Regions from separate parts of the Homo sapiens genome. Here all the other regions are linked to region 6. Evidence: promoter capture Hi-C in 16 types of primary human blood cells and fetal thymus (Javierre and others, 2016). All regions are on one chromosome and are shown on one strand. Each heading gives the region's core, a stretch centred on a gene start or on the middle of the fragment in contact. The rest is flanking DNA. Distances are from core to core; before and after follow the strand shown.

What was found. Contacts are between HindIII fragments. The CHiCAGO score rates a contact against its expected background, and 5 or more counts as called.
Region 1: a contact is called between the fragment with the promoter of UTP23 here and the fragment with the promoter of SAMD12 in region 6, in 1 of 17 cell types (fetal thymus). The highest score is 5.0, in fetal thymus.
Region 2: a contact is called between a fragment that was not itself captured here and the fragment with the promoter of SAMD12 in region 6, in 5 of 17 cell types (M0 macrophages, M2 macrophages, fetal thymus and 2 more). The highest score is 8.7, in M0 macrophages.
Region 3: a fragment that was not itself captured here is called in contact with the fragment with the promoter of SAMD12 in region 6 in 2 of 17 cell types (non-activated CD4 T cells and naive CD4 T cells); the score reaches 5.1 in non-activated CD4 T cells.
Region 4: a contact is called between a fragment that was not itself captured here and the fragment with the promoter of SAMD12 in region 6, in 5 of 17 cell types (fetal thymus, activated CD4 T cells, naive CD4 T cells and 2 more). The highest score is 11.7, in fetal thymus.
Region 5: a contact is called between a fragment that was not itself captured here and the fragment with the promoter of SAMD12 in region 6, in 1 of 17 cell types (naive CD4 T cells). The highest score is 5.2, in naive CD4 T cells.
Region 7: a fragment that was not itself captured here is called in contact with the fragment with the promoter of SAMD12 in region 6 in 1 of 17 cell types (M0 macrophages); the score reaches 5.6 in M0 macrophages.

The regions. Positions count from the first base shown.
Region 1 is chr8:116,764,958-116,767,994 of GRCh38, reverse strand. It overlaps UTP23 (UTP23 small subunit processome component), which reads right to left and starts at 1,471. Exons shown (of 3, transcript NM_032334.3): 1 at 1,204-1,471. The coding sequence starts at 1,391. It also overlaps a transcript of EIF3H not described here. RefSeq lists enhancers at 1,085-1,394, 1,405-1,554. The HindIII fragment of the contact is 9,967 bases long and covers 480-3,037 here.
Region 2 is chr8:117,328,571-117,331,340 of GRCh38, reverse strand. All of the region lies in intron 4 of LOC105375716 (a long non-coding RNA gene), which reads left to right. Among named protein-coding and RNA genes, the nearest start is that of MED30, 190 kb to the left of the region's middle. The HindIII fragment of the contact is 907 bases long and covers 969-1,875 here.
Region 3 is chr8:117,443,742-117,446,757 of GRCh38, reverse strand. The region is part of intron 3 of LOC105375716 (a long non-coding RNA gene); the gene reads left to right. Among named protein-coding and RNA genes, the nearest start is that of MED30, 75 kb to the left of the region's middle. The HindIII fragment of the contact is 3,753 bases long and covers 1-3,016 here.
Region 4 is chr8:117,516,160-117,519,031 of GRCh38, reverse strand. All of the region lies in intron 2 of LOC105375716 (a long non-coding RNA gene), which reads left to right. Among named protein-coding and RNA genes, the nearest start is that of MED30, 3.1 kb to the left of the region's middle. The HindIII fragment of the contact is 5,785 bases long and covers 1-2,872 here.
Region 5 is chr8:119,637,291-119,640,376 of GRCh38, reverse strand. ENPP2 (ectonucleotide pyrophosphatase/phosphodiesterase 2) reads left to right here and starts at 1,538. Exons shown (of 25, transcript NM_001040092.3): 1 at 1,538-1,629; 2 at 1,850-1,952. The coding sequence starts at 1,597. RefSeq lists a silencer at 1,323-1,422. The HindIII fragment of the contact is 849 bases long and covers 1,173-2,021 here.
Region 6 is chr8:118,620,713-118,623,488 of GRCh38, reverse strand. It overlaps SAMD12 (sterile alpha motif domain containing 12), which reads left to right and starts at 1,526. Exons shown (of 4, transcript NM_207506.3): 1 at 1,526-1,685. The coding sequence starts at 1,673. It overlaps SAMD12-AS1 (SAMD12 antisense RNA 1), which reads right to left and starts at 2,488. Exons shown (of 5, transcript NR_038210.1): 1 at 2,303-2,488; 2 at 1,834-1,954. RefSeq lists a silencer at 1,184-1,333 and enhancers at 1,434-1,633, 2,244-2,453, 2,484-2,533. The HindIII fragment of the contact is 1,953 bases long and covers 1-1,759 here.
Region 7 is chr8:117,463,562-117,466,302 of GRCh38, reverse strand. LOC105375716 (a long non-coding RNA gene) reads left to right here. Exons shown (of 7, transcript XR_928569.3): 3 at 396-633. Among named protein-coding and RNA genes, the nearest start is that of MED30, 56 kb to the left of the region's middle. The HindIII fragment of the contact is 1,975 bases long and covers 398-2,372 here.

The DNA.
Region 1 (3,037 bases), core at 222-2,721, 1.9 Mb after region 6:
CTGTCTCAGCCTCCTGTGTAGCTACTAGGATTACAAGTGTGAGCCACCTTGCCTGGCTTAAAAGTCCATTCTTGTGCTTGTGTGAGTGTGTATAAAGAACTGGATGGATGACACTGCACATGTTAACAGTGATTATTCGTGAGTAGTGGTATTATGAGTCATTTTAATTTTCTTTTTTTGCTTTTTAAAAGTAAATATTCTACAATGAAAAAACTACTAAATTTCTTAATAGTTCTTCATGGCCTAGCCTCAATTTGCCTTCTTCCTAGTTTCACTCCCAAATATATTCTGTGCTGCAACCTCTTTCCCAGGCATTTCATAACTCCATTTCGTGTGAAGAGGTCTCCACAACAAGAAGTGTCATTCTTTTCTGTCATTCAAAATAGTTCTTCCTCTCAGAACTGAACAAGTGAATGGGCTCAAATGTTATCTGAAATCTGTCACAATTCTCTCCTCTCTCCTCTTCATCCCGACAAGCTTCCATCCTAAGTGTTCCCACATTTCAATGAAGTGGGGAAACATCAGACCTAGAGTGAAAACACACACTGCAGACTGACTTATGCACTTTACTGGCCATGAGGGAGCAGTATGTGGCATATAGGAGGTACTTAATAAAGCGAGTTGAATAAACAAATGTGCTTGGGCAGATTCCTTAATCTCAAGTACTGACTTTTTGCCCTGGACATCAAAGATGGTAACTCACAGGTTCACTGTGAGGCTTGCAGAGTTTTGGTTTAAACTAAGAAAAGCTATGCAAATGACAGCAACCATTTGAAGACGGGTACACTTTGGATACCGAAAAATGCTCTAGTACACTATACTCGTTTGAGCTTACAGCAATCTTCTAAGCAGTTATCATCTTTATTTTACAAATGAGGAATCCGAGGCTCAGAGAGGCTAAATAACTTGACAGAAATCACAGAGCTGGTAGAACTGGGATCAAGATTCGAAGTCGGATCTCTCTGCTATAATGTGCTCTCATTCGCCAGGCTAACGACACGTGATATTCACAGGGCACTGTCCAATCTGCCTCTATTATAGGTATTCGCCTGACCACCTTCACCTCTCCACTTAACTGTCAACTCCACGTGGGCGGGGCGTTTTGCACCTCCTGAGCTCGCAATGAAGGTCTGTGAGCAACGGCCTCGCCTCTACAACACCCGACGGACCCTCTGTGCCTCCTCCCCAGCCCCCCGGGCCCACCTTGTGGTGCACAGCTGCGTCTCCCCCATGAGGTAGCGGGGCAGCTGCTCCCGCAGCTGGATGCGGCCCCGCAGCGCCGCCTGACAGAAGGTGCCGTCCAGCAGGATCTGGTACGGCTCGCGGACTCCGAAGTTGTTGCGGAAGAAGCCAAGATGCTTCTTGGCATGTTTCTGCCTTGTGATCTTCATGCCTGGCTTACCGGGACCGAGGCCACCGGACCAGGAAGCATCAGTAAACGCCTCACGCACGCCCCAGTACCCTCAATGCCAGTTTCACCCGGAAATGAAGCGCCTTTGGCCACGGAAGCAAACGCCTCTGTCTTCCGGGCCTGCCCATTGGTTTACGTCATGTCCAGACCAGCGCGCGCTTCCACCGCAGTGCCCGCGCTTAAAGGGGCGGTCCCTTAGGGCGGAACTTGTGCGTACGCTGGAAAACCGCTGGGGTGCGCGATTCCGCACGGGGGCGCACATGCGCAGTCTGGGGCCACGGTAAAAGAAAATTACGAGAATACATTTAGCGTGTTACCTACGTTTTAGAGGCGCGTAGCAAGAGCTTCTCTGAAAGACTGGCAGTATAGTAGTAGTCAGTGATAATATTGAGCCTTAATATGTTCCAGACACTGTCCTAAGTGATTTACCTTACATTATTCCCCTGAATGTTTATAATTCCCAAGTGAAAGAAGGAAATGATATATTGGATAGCTATGAGTGGGGAGGTTTGTACTGGCTGCTTTCCCATAAAGAAATTAAGCACGTTCACGAAGGGCACGTAGTTTGTTAGTGTCTGGAACCCAGTTTTCGTGCCTGAAGTTCAAATGTTCTTGCTACACCACCATAGAAACTAACGTCACTCAGGAACCATTTGTCAGGGCAAAGGGTGCCACCATTTTGCATTTCCTCCTGCCTTAGGACCATCCTAAATCACTCGCATGGAGTGTTTTGGAAGAACTCTCAAGAGCTTCGTTTGCCTAGAGTCAGAATTCCTAACCTTGAGTCCTGGTTTTGCCACAAACCCAAGCCGTTTGATCTTGGGCAACTCCCGAAGAAAGCTGGGTTCAACTTCCTCACTGTCAAACTGGTTGTAGGTCTAGATAAGTTTCAAGTACTCTTTTTATGTGCATGGTCTCTGACATAGGAAGACTACATACTGGGCCAGTAACAGGAAGGCACAAAGCTGACTGGAGGTTTAAAAATTACTTGGTCAATTTGATTAATGAGGAGAATGAATCAGAAAATTTCAAGTTCTCCCGTGGCTAACTGTCGAGTATCCACTTCAAGGTAAAATAATCAAAGAATGGGGAGTATGGAATTTTGCATTTTTGTCCTTGCCTGGAATCTGTCCCAGATCTAGTTTTGGCTAAAGATTGAAAGAACCAGCACAGAAAATGATTTACAACGTGATTGAATGCATTGTTTGCATTTGGGGTTTTATTTCAATATGTAGGTTTATGAAATTGGAATAAGATCTATAATGTTAGCCCTGATCTGAGTCCCAGCACATCACTTAGATGGTTGCTTTCATTTAAACTTAAAATGAATTTAGGAATTGGAAGCCATGAAAACTTTTGCAGGGTTGGATTCAAGGTCTTTGAGTGTAATTGCTCAGTACTTTTCAATTTGAATCCTCTTTTTATCCCTGTATGCCAACTCTCTACTCCAACTATGCGCCCACCACAGACAGAGAAACGAGATACCACCTGAGTCTTGCAAAACAGTTAAAACATTTTTTCTTAAATAGCCTCAGATTTATCTACCAGCTCCTTGGCCACTTTTCAGTACTAAGAAAAATGTGGTGCAGCACTAGGGATTTTAGTCTTATCTTAGTTTTTGTTGTC
Region 2 (2,770 bases), core at 173-2,672, 1.3 Mb after region 6:
TAACCTGTGCAGCCTTATTTCCCTGGCCTTTTGGTCCATCAGTCCAGCTGATGTTCTCTTTACCCAATGCTGCTGTGGGCTGTAATCTTTTGAGGCACGCTCAGGCTTTCCCTAAAAGCTTGCTACTCTGGGTAAAGTCAGCATGGCACCTGTCTGTGTTTTAAGTTTTTCTGAAATGCCTTTAAAATCCCCCACGTTCGGGGAAATGGAACACAAGCTACACACTATCCTCTATTCTTTGCCTGTTTCCTGACCGAGGCTTTGAGTCTTGAGGGTGGCAACTGTGTTTTCTTTATCTTTATAACTGAAAATCTAAGAACAGTGTCAGAACACATAAGCATTTGTCAAATGAATGTGCCAAACAATAAGAGAATGCTGGAGTAATTCTGAACAATGTCTTGCAAATTGTAAGAATTTGGACAAAACCATCAATTCATATTAAGATAAAAAAAAAAAGGAGAGTAACCATCTCAGAGTCAGCTCAATATAGAACAAGAGAAAAAAAATCCAATTTTGGACCTACTGTACTGTGTGGTTCCCTTCAGGTGCCAGCCACTCACAAATTGCCTCCTGTGACCCTGCCTGGGACCTATTCTTTAATCTCCGATGTCCATTACAGCAGACTTAAGAAAAAGGAAATGCTTACTGCCTTGTTAGGGAATGGATTAGGAAATTTCATGCACTTTATCAGAACCAGCAGAGATAAGTAGGTTGCAGGATAGTCTTTCAACACTTTTAAAAACACACCCAACAAGACCCCAGCACAACTGAATAGAAAGCTGATCTTACCATAGCATACATTTGCATTATCGATCCATTGGTGAAAATACTTTTGCAGCAAATTAAACCAAATGCTTCCTCCAAATACACAAGGTTTCAATTATCACTTTGTTTACATGTGTGTGCGTGTGTGTGTGTATGTGTGAGTGTGCACGTTCAAGCAGTTTTGCACAACTTGGACTTAAGCTTACGAGAAAAATCTCAGACTGGGTTTGAGAGAGCCTGTCTTTCTTCCCAGCTGTCGGCAGGGGGAGCTCATGCTTCATGCACAGCTGGGGCCTGTCTGCTTGCTGGAGACACAGACCAGATGAAGAAGGCTGAGGTGCCTCAAGAGAGGGGAGGAGATGCAGATTTGGGCGTGGGAGGGAGATTAAACAAAACTAAACAAAAACACATATTTCTTTCAAATGTCATCACTTTGGCCAACTGTCTTTTGGAAGATAGAAAATGTGGGCTGTCTAGAGTAAGTTCATAACTGCAACATGGGTTCCTTTCTATAATTTGTCTTCCACACATGAGAAAGCCTTTTTTCCGGGGAAGGTGCGTTTTTTTTGCTGGAGTTACACGATTTTCTGAACTGTGTGTTTGAGAAACTAGTATCCTTGTGACATTTACCAGTGATGTTCTAAGTATTGGCCTGGTAACTCTAACCGCATGTGCTAAAGAGGGTGCCAGACAGCTAAGAAAGCAGCATCAGCATTGGCTTTGGTGAAAACGGAGGCTTTGCCTGTGAGCAGTTTCAGGAGAGAGGGGTCAGACGGAGGCCTTCATCAGGCCCTGCCATGGGAAACGGAGCACAGCGTGCTACTATTGATGTTACTGGAAGAGTAGTCATGCATGTGCACATATGTTCACGTGTGCATCTCTGCATCTCTGCACATGTATGAGAATGTGTATGTGTGTGCGTACTGAGTGTGTGTGCTCTGAATCAGTGATTGAAGTCAGCTACAAATCCACAGCAGAAATTCTGCCAATCGCTTCGGCCCTATAAGAAAAAACAAGCAAAACATCACAAGCATGGAGATATTTTTTAAGAGAAAAAGCATCATTTTTTTTCATCATTTTTGATACAGTAAAACAAAAAGAATGAAAGCTTTTTAAAAGTGGCTTGCAGTATTGTTATTTTTTAAGTAGTGATAGTTTCTGTTGCCATGCATTCAAGGATTGATACCTAAATATTGACTAAAGTTTAGGATGAAGTTGCTCCTAATTCAGGTATTTTATTTTACTTACGTCTGTAGCTTCCTTTGAAAGCAGAGTTTGCTGACTTAATATATCTTTGGCCACACACACACACACACGAAAGGATGGTGGTAGAAGGGGATGTGAGGGAACACTCCTTGTGTTATTACCAAGGTTTTCGCCTACTGTGTGTCCATGCTCCCTGGGGCCCTGCCTGGTACAGTATGGTAACAGTTGGAGAGTAGTGCCATCTTGTGGCCACACTGGAAATTAAGTCTAGAAATTAACAGGTAGTGGACAAAATGCCCAATATTTGAAGTGTCTGGTCTGGGATTTCCAAGTAGTTGGGCAGAATCAATTGAGTTAGAATCCCCAAGGCTCTTTTATGCAGGGATGGGGTAGGGGGATCAGATCCCTCTCACTAATACCTGAGGCTAACTTTTCACTTATGCAGATTAGTTTAAATTTTTTGTTTGTTTAAAGACAGGGTCTCACTTTGTTGCCCAGGCAAGAGTGCAGTGGCATGATCATAGCTCACTGTAGCCTCCGACTCCTGGCCTCAAGTTATCCTCCCACCTCAGCCTCCTAAGTAGCTGGGGCTACAGGTGAGTGCCACTATGCACAGCTAAGTTTCTAATTTTTTATAGAGACAGGGTCTCACTATGTTGTCCAGGCTTTTCTTGAACTCCTGGCCTCAAGTAGTCCCCTTACCTTGTCATTAGGCTTTTAAAAGTCACCTTCCTTTCACTTAGTGTGAGTGAGCTTAAAATCCAGTCCTGGCAGAGTTTCTGATAAAAGGAGGAGACTG
Region 3 (3,016 bases), core at 392-2,891, 1.2 Mb after region 6:
TTTATTTAAATTATTTGCTTTATTGTTTATATGTTATGGTCTATACTAGAATGTAACTTTCATGAGAACTGTGACCTTGCTTGTATTGATCACTACTATATCCCTAGAATTCAGATTAGTATCTGATGGGGAATAGACAGTAATACTTCTTGAATGAATGTGAAAGGTAGAATCATATGAAAGGCAGATGTTCAGCCATTATTGAACTGAAAATTGGTGGCTTCATATGGTCCAAATTAATAGAATGAATACCTTAGACTTGAGAACAGCCAATGTGGGTGCTCAGTATAACTAAGCCACCTAATAGCTATGTGACCTTGAACAAGTTTCTTCATTTGGCTAATTTATAGTTTGGAGATGATATATACCTACCTCCAAGAGTTGTTTTGAGAATAAAATAAATAATGTATGTGGAGGTAACTTGCACATAATAAATAAACATTTTTTTGGAAACAAAGTAAATTCTAACATTAACGTAGCACTATAGAATCTGTAAAATGCATTTGCAAGTTTTATCTCATTTGTTTACTATAACAATAGAAGATGGTACAGATAAAAGAGAGCCTTATTATGCAAGGGTAATTTAATTATTCACTACAAAAAATTCACTTAAAGCTGCAACAAAAATTTCATAGTATATAAGGGAAAAAGGATTCAATTGAGAATTTACCTTTAAAAAGTAAAGGTAATAAAAATAATATATTTTTCATAAATGTAATAATTTTGGTTATAATGACAATAAGACATGTTTACTGAAAATAATGGAGTCCTTTTTTTAAAAAAAAACATGATTTCTGGCAAAACTATAAATGAGAACATAATGCAATGTCCTTTTATGTTATTAACTTTCAAAGAATCCTCAAAGGTCACTTTTGAGAAACATTCAAGGTTTAATCAGCTTTCCCAAAGATTTTTATTGTTATTTTGATACTCAAATCATTTTCTTTAAAATTCCTGCCCTGTCACCAACCTTACCTTTTCTCTCTTCTGTGGTTTTGAGATGCTAACTAGGCCAGATCCTTCCATGTCCGTTGCTTTGTGTGTGACTTTGCACTATTCTCTAGCACTCCTCTCATTCATCGCTTGAGAGTCTGAAACTTTTCTGAGATTTACAGTTTTGCTTGCCAAAGGATTTGCAAGATATTTATAGACTAATGATCCAAGGCATTGATTTGATGGTTAGAGATAAATACAAATCTTAAAAGAGAAGGGATGCAGAGAGCAGACTAATTTCATAAATGAGCAACTCATTAGAGCATTAGAGGATATTTTCATGTTATGATGGCTTTTGATTTCTTGTGCAGTCTCATTATGCTGCAGACTCAGATAATAAAATTGAGATAATGAGGAACCTCTGTATTATTACTATCTTCGTTTTATAGATAATTAAAATGCAGCTCAGAGAAGTTTAGTGACTTAAGGCAACACAGCAAGTAAATACTGTCTCTTAATCCATGCTCTTTATGCACAGAAGATAAATTTGGGATTAAGGGTGAAATTATTTTCTTTTGGTTGCAATTTAAATTTATGCTTTACTGTAATAAGAAAGAGTCTTTTCAAAGGACTCATTACTTTGAATAAATGTTAGGATTTCTGAGTAGTCTCAGGTCGCAGGCTAAAGTCTTTTCTTCTGCACTTGATTTTGATCTCCGTAGGAAATTATTGCAGGTCCTATGTCTGAGAATTCCTTCTCAAGTAGAATGAATGGAATAATGGAATGAGTTTAGAACTAAGAATGAGGATTTATGGGTTCTAGGCTTAGCTCTGATGTTGACAAATTTTCAAAAATCAAGTATAACCTTGGACAAGGAGCTTTCTCAGTTTCAGTTTCCTTAACTCTAAGATAAAGGTTCTGAGCTCATTGTTCACCAAAGCCCTTTGTATGTCAAGATTCCTTATGTCTACCTACTACTTGCACTCCACTACAGACCAGACAGGTGGTCTTATGCTGCTATGCATTTGAACTGTGAGGTCTGGCACAAATGGAGTTTGACTGCAGCTCTATGCTTTCCCTCTCCCTGTAATTTTCCTTTTCCCTTTCTTTAAACCTAAAGTTCTTCAGCAGCCAGTATATTGGTAAGAGTGTGACCTCAAAAGTCAGACATACCTGAGTGCAAACCCCAGCCATATGATTAGAAAATTTGCTGAGTTTTAGGCTTCTTATTTCTACAGTTAGATTATTAGACAAATACTGGATACTACTAAGGATGAAATCTATTAATATATGTGAAATAATTGGTACATAGGAAAAACTTAGTAAACACCAGCTTCCTTGCTTTCCTTCCACCTTCTCCAAACACAAAAGCTGTAAAACATATTTGCTGTAGAGCCACCACACTTCTTTTACCAGGAGAACACAGAGATGCAAATGGTTAAGAAAAAAATAATTAAAATGGATTAAGATATCGCTTTCAAGCAATGCTTACTTAAAAGACCGAATTTTGAAGCTATCAGTTGTATGTGCATTCACTTGGAAGTCCCTGAACAAAGCACTAATATAATCATGTCTAAGTCAGCATCTTCTAGTGACCTGGAACGTCAGGTCATTGCTTGGCTTTCTTGCTAATCTCTGAAAGCTCAGTGTTTTATTGCCAAAAACAATGCAAAGGATCAGCTCTTCCTTTTAAAGATTTTCTTAGTGTTTTACTATCTCATTTCTTTCAGAGAAGCCAAGCTGAGAATTGCCTTAGGTGGACTGAATATATGTCCTGTTGGCTAATGTTCCTGTCTTCTTCTAGAGTTTCTTCTAGAACTCAGTTCTTATTCTATCTATCTATCTATCTATCTATCTATCTGTCTATCTATCTATCTAATCTATCTTCATCAACAACAACATCATCTATCTATTATCTATGTTTTTCATCTATCCTGTGGAAACACTGATATCAAATATATTTTTCTTGATTTGAGACCTGTGTAGAATACTGAGAAATAGGTTTCCAGGGTGAAAAGCGAATCAGTTGCTTTTGTCATTTAATTTATTTATCTTATAAAGTATCTTAATTACATTTTCTTT
Region 4 (2,872 bases), core at 321-2,820, 1.1 Mb after region 6:
GAATAATTTGAAATATTCATTTTAGAACACTTATTCTGGTTGCTAAATGGGGAACAGATGGTGGGTTTCTATTGTCTTCTCTCCCAAAGGGGAATGATGATGATGATCATGACCTGTGCAGAGAAAGGAGACAGAGGGTAACTTTGAATAAATATTTAGTAAGTAGAATCTAGAGAACTTGATAGTAACTGGATCAGGAACATTAAGGAGAGGAAAGAATTAAGGATGGCACGTATTTCTGCTTTCATGTGAAACTTCAGGTGAAGTTTATGTCATTTACCAAGACAGGATACACTGAAGAAAAAATAAGTTTCCGAGAAATTATGCCTTATGTTAATTTCCTATTGCACATGTAACAAATTACCACAAACTTTGTGGCTTAAAACAGCACACCTTTTATTATTTTATAGCTTTTTAGCTCAGAAGTCTGAAATTGTTCTCGCTGAACTACGCTCAAGGTGTTGGCGGGCTGTGTTCCCTTCTGGGGGCTCTCAGAAGGAATCTGTTTCCTTGTCTTTTCCAGATTTTAGAAGGCTGCCGCAATTGCTTGGCTCATGACCACTTCCACCAACTGCAAAAACCAGCTTTCATCCTTTTCAAAGCCAGAATTGGCTAGTTGAATATGCCATATCTCTGGTTCTGAGTCCTCTGCCTCTCTTTCATTTAAGTATCATTTTGATTACATCGGGTCCACCTAGATAATCCAGGATATCTTTTTATTTTAAGGTCAGCTGTTTTGCAGCTTCAGTTCCGTCTGCTACCTTAATCGCCCCTTGCCATGTAACATGACATACAGACTCTGGGAATTAGGATGTGGACATCTTCGGGGAGTAACTAAAATCTGCCTACCACATGCCGCCAATCCAAACTGTCCCTAAATTCAAACTCACATACCTAAAAACCTGACATCTTGACTTGGATGGCTATTTGGCATCTAAAACTTATGTCTAAGAAAACCCAACTCTTGATCCCTCCCAACCTTCTTTACCACACTTTTCCCATGTCATTGTCTGGCACCACCATGCATTTAGTTGCCCATCCTGGCTTCTCTCTTTCCCACCCTACTTCCAAGTCATCAGAAAATAGAATGAACTCTGACTTTCAAATATATCCTATATGTGACCAATTACTTCACCCCTTTCAACCTAGTCCAAGCTGTCTTCTCTTATTTAGAATGCTGGATAACAATCAAGAGTCTCCTAATTGAACTCCCTTCCTGCTACACTTGCCCCATCCAGTCCACACTCATTACAGCACCCACAGGCAAACTTACAAGCTAAGTCAGGTTATGATTCTCCCCTGCTCTCCTGTCCTCTCATCGTGCTTAGAATAAAATCCAAAGCTGCATGACCTGCACACCTCCACATGTGCTGGCCTAGGCTGTTCCTGCTCTCTCAGTTCCCACAGCTCTCCCCTCACTCCAGATACATACACCTCCTTACTATTCCTTGTGCACTCCAAGTTCATCTCACTTCAGACTCATTTATTTTGGCCTGGGAAGCTCTTCTCTCAGCTATCTCTCCAGGCTTTGTTTACAGTGGCCTTTTCTGGCCACCCTACTTAAAATAGCCTGCATCAGGCTGGGTGCTGTGGCTCACACCTGTAACCCCAGCACTTTGGGAGGCCGAGGCGGGTGGATCACGAGGTCAGGAGATCGAGACCATCCTGGCTAACATGGTGAAACCCTGTCTTTACTAAAAAATACAAAAAAATTAGCTGGGCATGGTGGCGGGCGCCTGTAGTCCCAGCTACTCGGGAGGCCGAGGCAGGAGAATGGCGTGAACCTGGGAGGTGGAGCATGCAGTGAGCCGAGATCGCACCACTGCACTCCAGCCTGGGCGACTGAGCAAGACTCTGTCTCAAAAAAAAAAAAAAAGAAAAAAAATAGCCTGCATTAGTCTTCTGTTGCTGCTGGAAAAAAATATCAGAATTTAGTGGCTTAAAGCAGCAGAAATTTATGTCCCCATTTTCTTACTGATTGTAAACTGACAGCCATTCCTAGCTTCTATGAGATGCCACATTCCTTGGCTTGTGGTCCCTTCCTCCATCTTCAAAGCCAGCTATGGCAGGCAAGTCTCTCTCATGCTTTAAATTTCTCCTGCATCTTATTCCATTGTCCTTGTCACATACCTCTAACCTTTCACTTTTGAGGGCCTATGTGATGATACTGGGTTCATCTACGTTATTCTAGATAAACTCCCCACCTCGAGACCCTTAACCTTAACCACGCCTGTAAAATTCCCTGTTTCATGTAATGCAACATAGTCATAGCTTCTAGGGATTAGAGGGTTTGCATCTTTGTGGGGCCATTATTCCACCTACAGTACAGCCCTCTCCATCTCTCTGTCCATTTAGCCTGCTTCATTTTTTGTAGTGTTTCTCTCAAACTGATGTTGTTTCTTTCACTGTTTGTCCCTTCAGCTAAACAGTAAATCTCATGAAATTAGAGATTGTTTCTATTGGTTACTTCAGTAGATTCAGCACCTACAGCAGTGCCTGGCACATAATAAGTGCTCAATAAATAGTTGATGAAAGAACCAGGAGTTTACTCGGGGGCATCTTGGGTTTGAAATGTGTGCATGATCATCAGTGGATATATCCAGTAAGCAATTGAGTGTGTGCTGGGACCTGGTAGGGTTTTCCTTTTACATGGTTAGAGAAAGGTGGGTGGGTGTGATAGTAAGCTCAAAATCCATGGAGTCAGATAGTCCTGGACTAAAATCCAAACCTGGCATTACTCAACAGTGGACAGATGACACCAACCTCCATCAATAACAATGGTATTTAGCTTTGGGATTGTTGATAGGATTAAGTGAGATGCTATATATAACACACTTATAGTTCCTAGTGTATACTAAGCATTCAATAAATG
Region 5 (3,086 bases), core at 348-2,847, 1.0 Mb before region 6:
TATCTTGAAATTTAACATAAATTATAGGAAAATCTTTCATGGAGTTAACATCTTTTATAAGCCTTGCTAAATACCCTACTCCAAATTTGTTCAGTATGGCATACAGACAAAAGCAAGAGGCTTACATATAAAAATGTATAAGCCTGTCCTCTTTGCAACAGTGCAAAACTAAAAGGATTTTAGAAAGGCAATTAACAGTTTGGCAGTATGTGTATTTTCTTTTTTTCAATTAGATATTACTAGATTCTAAGAATCTGTAATGAAACCCAGGCCTACTGTACAACCCCCTATAAACAAGTTTTTGCTTTTGTGCTATCATGTTTTATTTGAGCAGAGCCACTACTCTGTTACTAATTTGTTGCATGGTAAGTCTCGTATTTGTTTACGCACGAACACATGTGCTGCGGAAGAAAAGATGGTCACTGGACCTGCTGAGGAAGAGGCCAAAAACAAATCTTTTTCCCTCATTTGAATCCTGAAGGCATGTAATATTTAAACAACTTTCAGATTTAGAGCCCTTGATTTTTTCTTTTGAAAGTGTGCTGGTTGCCAAATTGCTTAGTAAAGAAACTTTAGTACCCACAATAGCCTCAAAGGACACAGTATTTGGTGGCTACATTTAACCAAGAAATAACTAGGGAAACAATTCTTGACATTTCAATTCTTGCTGCCATTGAGATTTCCTTCCTAAATTCAATTGCTAATAAAGCTTCCCATGCCATCCCCTTCCCCCACCCATCTGCCTCTCAAAAACCGCCCCCTCCTCCGCCCCGCCCGAAACAAGCTGACAGTCTTTACGGGAAGAAGAGGCAGAGACTGAAGTTATTTTGTCCGTCCTCCCAGGGCAGAAGGACTTTATGCTGCGTGGCTGGCATTTCCAGTATTTTGATAAAAGTTACTTCTCTAAACTTGAACCACAGCATGGGGAAAATAATGTTATCTTTTATGTTAGTTACAATTTTGCGAAATTTCATCATGAGAAACTTTCAAGGAGGCAGAAGTAGCTGAGAATGTGATACTAGGGACAGGGTCGCTCAAACTGCCAGCAAAATAAATAGATGGGAAAGACAGGAACGTTATTAGGTTTATAAATGATAAAACTTTCCTTGCTTAAAAAAATAAAGTGGTGAGGTTGACGCCATTGAATGACTGCATTGTAAACCTTAAAAGCTTAAAGCTGGTGGAAAGCCCTTGCACAGCCCTGTTTTCATTTTTATCGGATGAAATGCATTTGGTTTCTTTTTGACAAACCATGTTTTTGTGAGGAAAGGAAAATGAACATGCACTGTTATGGGCCACGGCAATGTAACAAACCCTCCTGTTGCCAGAGGATACCACATGAAAGTGTCTGTGGGTTAGGGGAGGGACCTGTAAGGGGGCGGGGATAAGGGGGATGATAGCTTAAGCCTCTTAGGCTCAGAGCTGCGATTTGTGAACACCCTGTGATGTAATCAAGCTCTGGACAAATCAGAGGAGTCTGTCAACCTCCCAGGTGGGATTGCTTATAGTTAATAGACTAAACCCAGAGCCTCAAAGCAGTGCACTCCGTGAAGGCAAAGAGAACACGCTGCAAAAGGCTTTCCAAGAATCCTCGACATGGCAAGGAGGAGCTCGTTCCAGTCGTGTCAGGTGGGAGAACGGAGGAATGACGGGGGACATGCTTGATCTTCAGAATCAGTGACTGATTGGCATTTTCCTTTTTGTTGTGCAAATTAAGATAGCACCTTATTATGCATTTTGGAAGTGGTAGGATTGGGTGTTGATATTGAAGCCATTTGAATCACCTTTGTGTAATTTGATTTAGTCTTCTCCAGCTGTATTTGACAACTTGGTCTCTTTATTCTCTTAGATAATATCCCTGTTCACTTTTGCCGTTGGAGTCAATATCTGCTTAGGATTCACTGCACATCGAATTAAGAGAGCAGAAGGATGGGAGGAAGGTCCTCCTACAGGTAAGTGTCAAAACTATTTGCATTTTCAATTTTTTAAAAATATTACATACGGGGTAATCAATGTAAGCTTATTAAAATATTTATTTTTAATACAATCTTGCAGTATAACTAAGTTAGTCCTAAATTTCTCTGGGTAAAACCACCTATGTGTATAATTCAGGTGGGAGAGTGTGGTTTTCATTAGAGAACATTTATGATTGTTTCATAACTGGCTATTTCCATTTTTGTACTCAAATTTGTAAATGTTAGGATACAATTAAAACTCTTGTTCACAGACAAGGCTAAAGTAGAAGTGGTGAGAACAGGTGTTGGTTTAATATTGGAGCTACCCAAATCTGATTTGCTGTCACATGATATAGGATGTAGTATTTGCCACTAGAAAGTTCTGATGTAGGAAAAAGGAATGGAAGTAAAAAAGGCAGTGAGCTATCTTTATGAAACTTCAGAAATTTAGGACTTTAAGATTTACTTAAAATTGGAAAAACATAAAAGAGAGGAGGTGTTTAAAGAGTTTTCAGGATTGATTTGTCCTCATTGTGTGTCCTTATGGCAAAGGAAAGGTAAGTTTTAATAGTGTACCTTGACTTAAATAATAGAACCAAAGTGAAAGAGTTTCTTTTTACAATACACTACACCATAAGTAGTGTTCCCATACAGTGTTCTTATAAAGGAGCTCCTTGTGCAGACAGAGGGGGCTTAACTGACCAGGTCTTAAGCAATGAGTTGGTTAATTTCCTGGAAATTGGAGCTGCTGATGGTTTTAGAAATAAAAAATTACATTTTAAGTAATGGGCACTCTAGGGAACAATATTTTCTGGACTTTTCCTGACATTCCAGCATGTTTGTCTGTCTTCCTGTGAATTTTGTGTTTCTCTGTATGTCTTGATCTGATTGTTATGAAAGACCATCACTTGCCTCTGTTTAGCCAGCTTGAAATTTTATTATCAACCGGGTTAGGACACATACATTGATGGAATACTAAATCTTCCTTACATCAATTAAGTTACTTTTGAATCATGCCAGTAGGTTGAAAGAATAATATTAGAAGTGAATTAGTGAATTGAAGTGGGGTGTGGCGGGGTTAAGAGTGAGAAAATAGATCACAAAACTTGCAGCCCCAGGGAGCCAAATGGA
Region 6 (2,776 bases), core at 277-2,776:
GGTCGGAAAATTCTTTTTCCCATGGAAATTATGTCTCACTGAATGGGTCTCTCTCTACTGTACCTAAAAGAGAGGCTTAGGTTTGACTTGTACACAGCTCCATGGACTCAGAATTAAAGTATCAACAAGAGCATTTAATGGTTACACGCAGGTATTTTTTAAAGTACCTATACACATATTATTATTATATATTACCCAGTAGGGGAACTAAGCATGTAATTAGTGACCAGAACAACAGGTGTGCATGTATACACTGAGAAACGAAATTGTTTTGAAAAACATTTTTTTTTTTTTGCTGATGACCAAGACACACAAAAATGTCTAAGTAGTCATCATGGGAAGAATCCGATTTTTGTACTTCCTCATTTTACAGAGATTAACATTATATATGAGTGACTGGGTGGATGTGGTACCAAATACATTTGTAAACTGAAGGCCTTTAAAAGTCAATCCAGTCTTGAGCCAGATTTATTCCCGAGGCTATTCCCTTACCCCTTCCAGCCACAACTGTATCCGTATTTTCACACGCAGGAAAAAATGTTTAGAAACTTAATTTTTACGAGCTGTCGAATTGTATTGCTATCCACGTGATTCCCATTATCATGTCTGCTTATAGCATCCCCAGCACCTACAGCTAGGACATAGGTTCAGAAGTTGAAGGAACCTGATTCTCAGGCACTGTTAATTATTAGGCCCTATCACAGGCTGTCAACAGGCTCCAAGTCTAGGCAAATTGAAAGCCTCCTATCCTGGAAGCCAGACAGGCTTTCATCTGACCTCCTCCGGTGCAATCCTGGCTCCCAGACTTTGTTCCTAACAACCCCTTGGGGACGTTGCCTATTGGGGTTTAAGCCACTCCTCCTCCCCTACACCCCCATGCCAAGTATTTAGCCACCTGAACCACCCTGTAGGATAAGACAACTGTATCAACCGTCGGAATTCCCCCACAAAACCCATACATCTCAGGGTGCGAAGGAACAAGTTTCAACCTCACCCTGGGCAGCGTTCTCTGGCCCAGGTGGAGAACCACACAGGAGGACAGTGGTCCTGCTCTCCCTACTAAATGGTGGTTCAGGAGGCCAGGGGGCGGGGCGGTACCGGCGGCAGAGGCCCACGGACGAGCTCGCAGGAGCTCATCACACAGCTGACCGTCACCTGCCCACCTCACCACACCTGCTAGGTGCCAAACCCCTTGTAATGGACAGGGAAGGGCTCAATCACGGGTCCCTACTCTTAGCAGCGAACCTATCTCAGCGCACGGCCTCCTGGGAGATGTAGTCCAGACCGCTTCCCGGGAACCCCCCCCCCCTCCCCCCCCGCCCCGCCACAACCAGGCATCCCTGGTCCCCTCACAACTTCCCCAGGAGAGATTGCTCGGCCTGGCCAGCTGAAGCTGGAGTTGCTCTCCAAGTGTCGGGGCCAGGCGGCACTCCGCGGAGGAGTCGGGGTGCTCTCCCCAGTCCGAGCGAAGGGAGGGAACTACACTTCCCAGGACGCCCTGCGCGCGCCGAGCCGGGAGCCGGCTGCCTCGCTTTGCGTGACCGCGGCAGGTTGGTCCTGGAGCAGATAAGCGCAGAATATTTAGGCGAAAGCGAGAGGAAGGGGGGAGCGCGGGGCAGGAGGAGTACCTCGGCCAAGAAAATTATGCATGCGTTAGGGAAGCTCTGAGAGAATGGCTGTGGAAGGTAAGGGACGCTTGGGGCATTTTTAAGCTCCCTCTTAACCCGCGCACCCCAAGGCACACATCCCCGATGAAGCTTGGCGATCGTGGGGAGGCGAGGAAAGGGGGTGGCGGAGAGCGGGCCCCTTCCTCCTCCACCTCTTGGCACTCACCTGCGCCGCCAAGGCCAGTAGGCGCTTTAATTCAGTTGCTTTGGAGAGACGTGAAGGGTAGGTGCGTAGGACTTTGAGGTAGGAGGTGTGGAGACGAGTGTCCCTGATGCGAAACGATATCCTGGAAATGGGGGGAAAGCCGGAGGATCCGGCATGAGGTTTTGGCCCCGAGATGCCCTTTTTCCCTGCCCCCTCCCTCCGGAGCAGGCTGGGTGGCCCCGGGGCTGGGGATGCTTGGTTGGCCCCCCTCACGTGGGAGAGGTCCCCAGCCCAGGTGCGTCATCCGGAAGCTTGGACTGGGATTGGGTCGAGGGCCCTTCGTCCTATGCACCCAGCAGCGGCGGCCGCAGATGTACCCAGAGGGTAGAGGTGTCCCTACACCTGTCTCTGCTTATACAGCCAGCGCCCCGGGCTTAGCAAAGTTTACAGACATGAAATGTAATCAGCCAGGGAAAAGAAGTGCAACAACCTCTTCGATTTGGGTGAATCCTTTTCTTTGAAGATCACTTTCTTCTTACAGTCTTGAGCTTCGGCTTTGCAGTTTTGACCGTAAAGTCCTGCCTCCCTTGAACTTCCTGGTTGAAAGCAGGGTCAGGCTGTTCGTGAGGGATCCTGAGTTTTTCATTTCAGGTTATCTTACCTTGGAACACAAACTTCCTTGTTTAGGTAGTTTCTGAAGAAGAAAAAAAAACTGTGGACCGGAAGGGTTTGTGATGTCACATTAGAGGTCAAGCTGTGCCTGAATGATGAAATGATTGTGGGACGAAATGGGAGCCTACATTCACCTGCAGAATTTTGGTTTCTGAGTGCAGTCAGGTCAGAGGGCGTACTGAAGTAGGAAGAGGAGGGCTTGCCTGCCAGCTGCTTCAGGCGCCTTGCCAAGGGGAAATCAGCCTATTCCTTGTAGGCTAGAGACGAGAAGGCCACGAGGCTGGCTTGCTGC
Region 7 (2,741 bases), core at 136-2,635, 1.2 Mb after region 6:
TTAATATTCCCACATACTATCCTCATTATGTGAAGAGATTCTGAAGTATTAGAATCAAGTTTATTAAAGTACTTAAAGAGTATTGATGTCTGTTTAACATGAGTTTGATTATGCAGAATGGGAAGCCATTACCAAGCTATCCAGGCCCTTCTTTTAGAAACAACCAGCAAATATAAGCCCTATTTTTTTTCTCTTTAAACCATGTACCATGAGCAAGCATCCCTTTGATTGCCATATGCTGTGTTGTGCTCACTGTGCATGTACTTTTTTTGTTTTCCTATTTCAGTCCCTCAAGATATCTTTGCCTTCCTCTCTTAACTTGTGCCAGTATTAATTATGATCTTTTCTCCTTCTTTTATCTTACTTCTGCCTCTGTCTCAACTACTGAATCCAAGCTTTCATCCAGCTTTTAAGGGAAACTAATATCTCATGAAATTGTGAGGGCCTGGAATCTTCAAAGAGCCAAGGATTCTGCCAGACTGAGCAATAGACTTGATGAGCATTCTCCACTTAAGATCTGAACTATGAGAAGTCGAATCAAAGCAGTTCTTTTGTAATTCCAAACAGCCATTTAGACATATGAAGAAATGAAAGTAAAGCAGTTCTAAAGACAAGGAAGAGGGTCAATGAAAGGTAAGAAATCCTGACAAAACAAGAAGAAAAGTATTTCCTTTGGTCATGGTGGGCTTGTTTCTAATGAGGAAGACTTGGGATTCTGAATATTATGTATAGCTTATTGAATAGTTATGTTTAGGTTAATTCTATAGTAAACTATATTAGTTCTCATTCTTGCATGTGAGTTCGATTCTCAAACAATCCTTGTTAATCTTAATAAAGGTACATTAGAGAACCTCTTCAGGAATTGTTGTACACAAAGATCTTTAAGAGGCTTGCCTCCAACAAGCTGCTGAAGTGAAGACACTTATAATTAGACCAGTGGGCGAAATAAATAGTATTCTTACAGATTTCTGTGTAAGAAAATCTTATTTCTATCTGGATGTATTTGGAAGTTCTATGGGCTACTTAAGACTTCCTTAGTCCTCTGCCTCTGAGTCTCTGAAAACAGACTCAGGCTTATTGGCTTAACACTGCTTTCCTGTAAACTTTTATTATGGAAATGCCTCTCATTCCTAAATATTATTATTGTGACTCTCATCTAATAAAGTTTTACAACGACAGGTCTTGGATCTTCTAGAAGAGAAAAAAATCTGTTTAATTCTCAAAAGTATATTGTTTCTTCCCAGTTACCGGAGTAGAATTTATAAAGTTTATAATTTGTGTGTCTCTGTGCTTCAATCCTCAGTTACCGAATGATCTCAGAAAAGAGTAAATTGCATTTCTAATTCGGAAATTTCAGACTGGTTAAATGCCTAGAGCTGTATTGAATGCTATCATATGACTTCTTCTCATGATTCTCTGATACAATTCAATGGCAATTTTTGCCCACTTACAATGGAAGTGGTATCATGCAGACTTGACAGAAGGGTGGTAGTTCAGAGTCTGATATCAGGTTTACCATGTATCTTTAGATAAGTGAATTAACCTCTCTGAGTCTATGCTTCTGTATTTAAAAATGAACACTTTGGGACAGGTAGCATTCATTTACTTCTTCAAACATTTATTGCATTCCTTCTGTGTTCTAGCTACTGCAGTTTTTGCTTGAGTTACAACATTGCACAAGATAGTGTTCCTGTCTTCATGGGCCATAGTGTAGATGACAAAGATAAACAACCAGACAATTATAAAACAGTGAAATAAACAATACCAGTGAAAGCATAAGTTCCAAGATAATGGGCTGTCAACTTTATCCATCCTCTAGATAGATTGTCAATTATTTGCATTTCTTTGAATTTGTCATGCAGACTTCATTGCCTCCATGTCTTTAAACATGTTCCCTCTGCCTAGAATAGTGTTTACCATGTTCTTTACCTAGCTAATGTCTACTTAGTCCTTAAGGTTCAGATCAAGTATTACTTCTCAGGGAAACCTTCGTTAACTCTTTGAGTCTGGTTTGTGTGGCCCTCCTTGAGTGCCTCTGGCCCTTATATGCATTCTTCAACAACAGTAGCTTGATTTTATTTGCTTACCAGTACTATTGTTAGGATGTAAACTCATACAGTGCAGGAATCCCATCTTTTATTTCTTTATTCCCAGAACATGGTCTAATGTTCGGTATACAGCAAATGTTCTATAAATATTTGTGGATTATTTGAATATCAAACATTTATTGAACACTTACTATGTGCCAGGTACTAAGACGGGATTCACTTTCATCACCTTATTTGCTTTAATTTTTACAATGCTCTTTATTACGGTGTGTATAGTATTCCTATCCCCCTTTAGAGATGGAGAAATGGAGATTCACAGAAGCTTGGTAATTTTCTCAAGGTTACATAGATGGACAAACCCAGAGTTTGAAGTTGGTTTTCCAGAGGATTTCCTCTTTATTCGAATACTACACTGTAAATCATGGGTTTTGTTGTTTTAACATATGTGTGTATGTGTGTGTGTGTTTACATGCATGTTCAAGGGGAAGTGGTTGTAAAGATGATCACCTTCTCTAAGAGGACATTCAAGGCTAATGGTTTTTGTGCCATATTTGTATAAACTGGTGTAAATCTACCCTTGGGTATTTTGGCTCATTAGTGGGAGAAACATTGAGCTTCTTCAAGTGAACAGATGTCTATGCATAGTTATATCTTTGAAGCAAGGTTATGGTAGGGCCTAATCTGCATACCTCT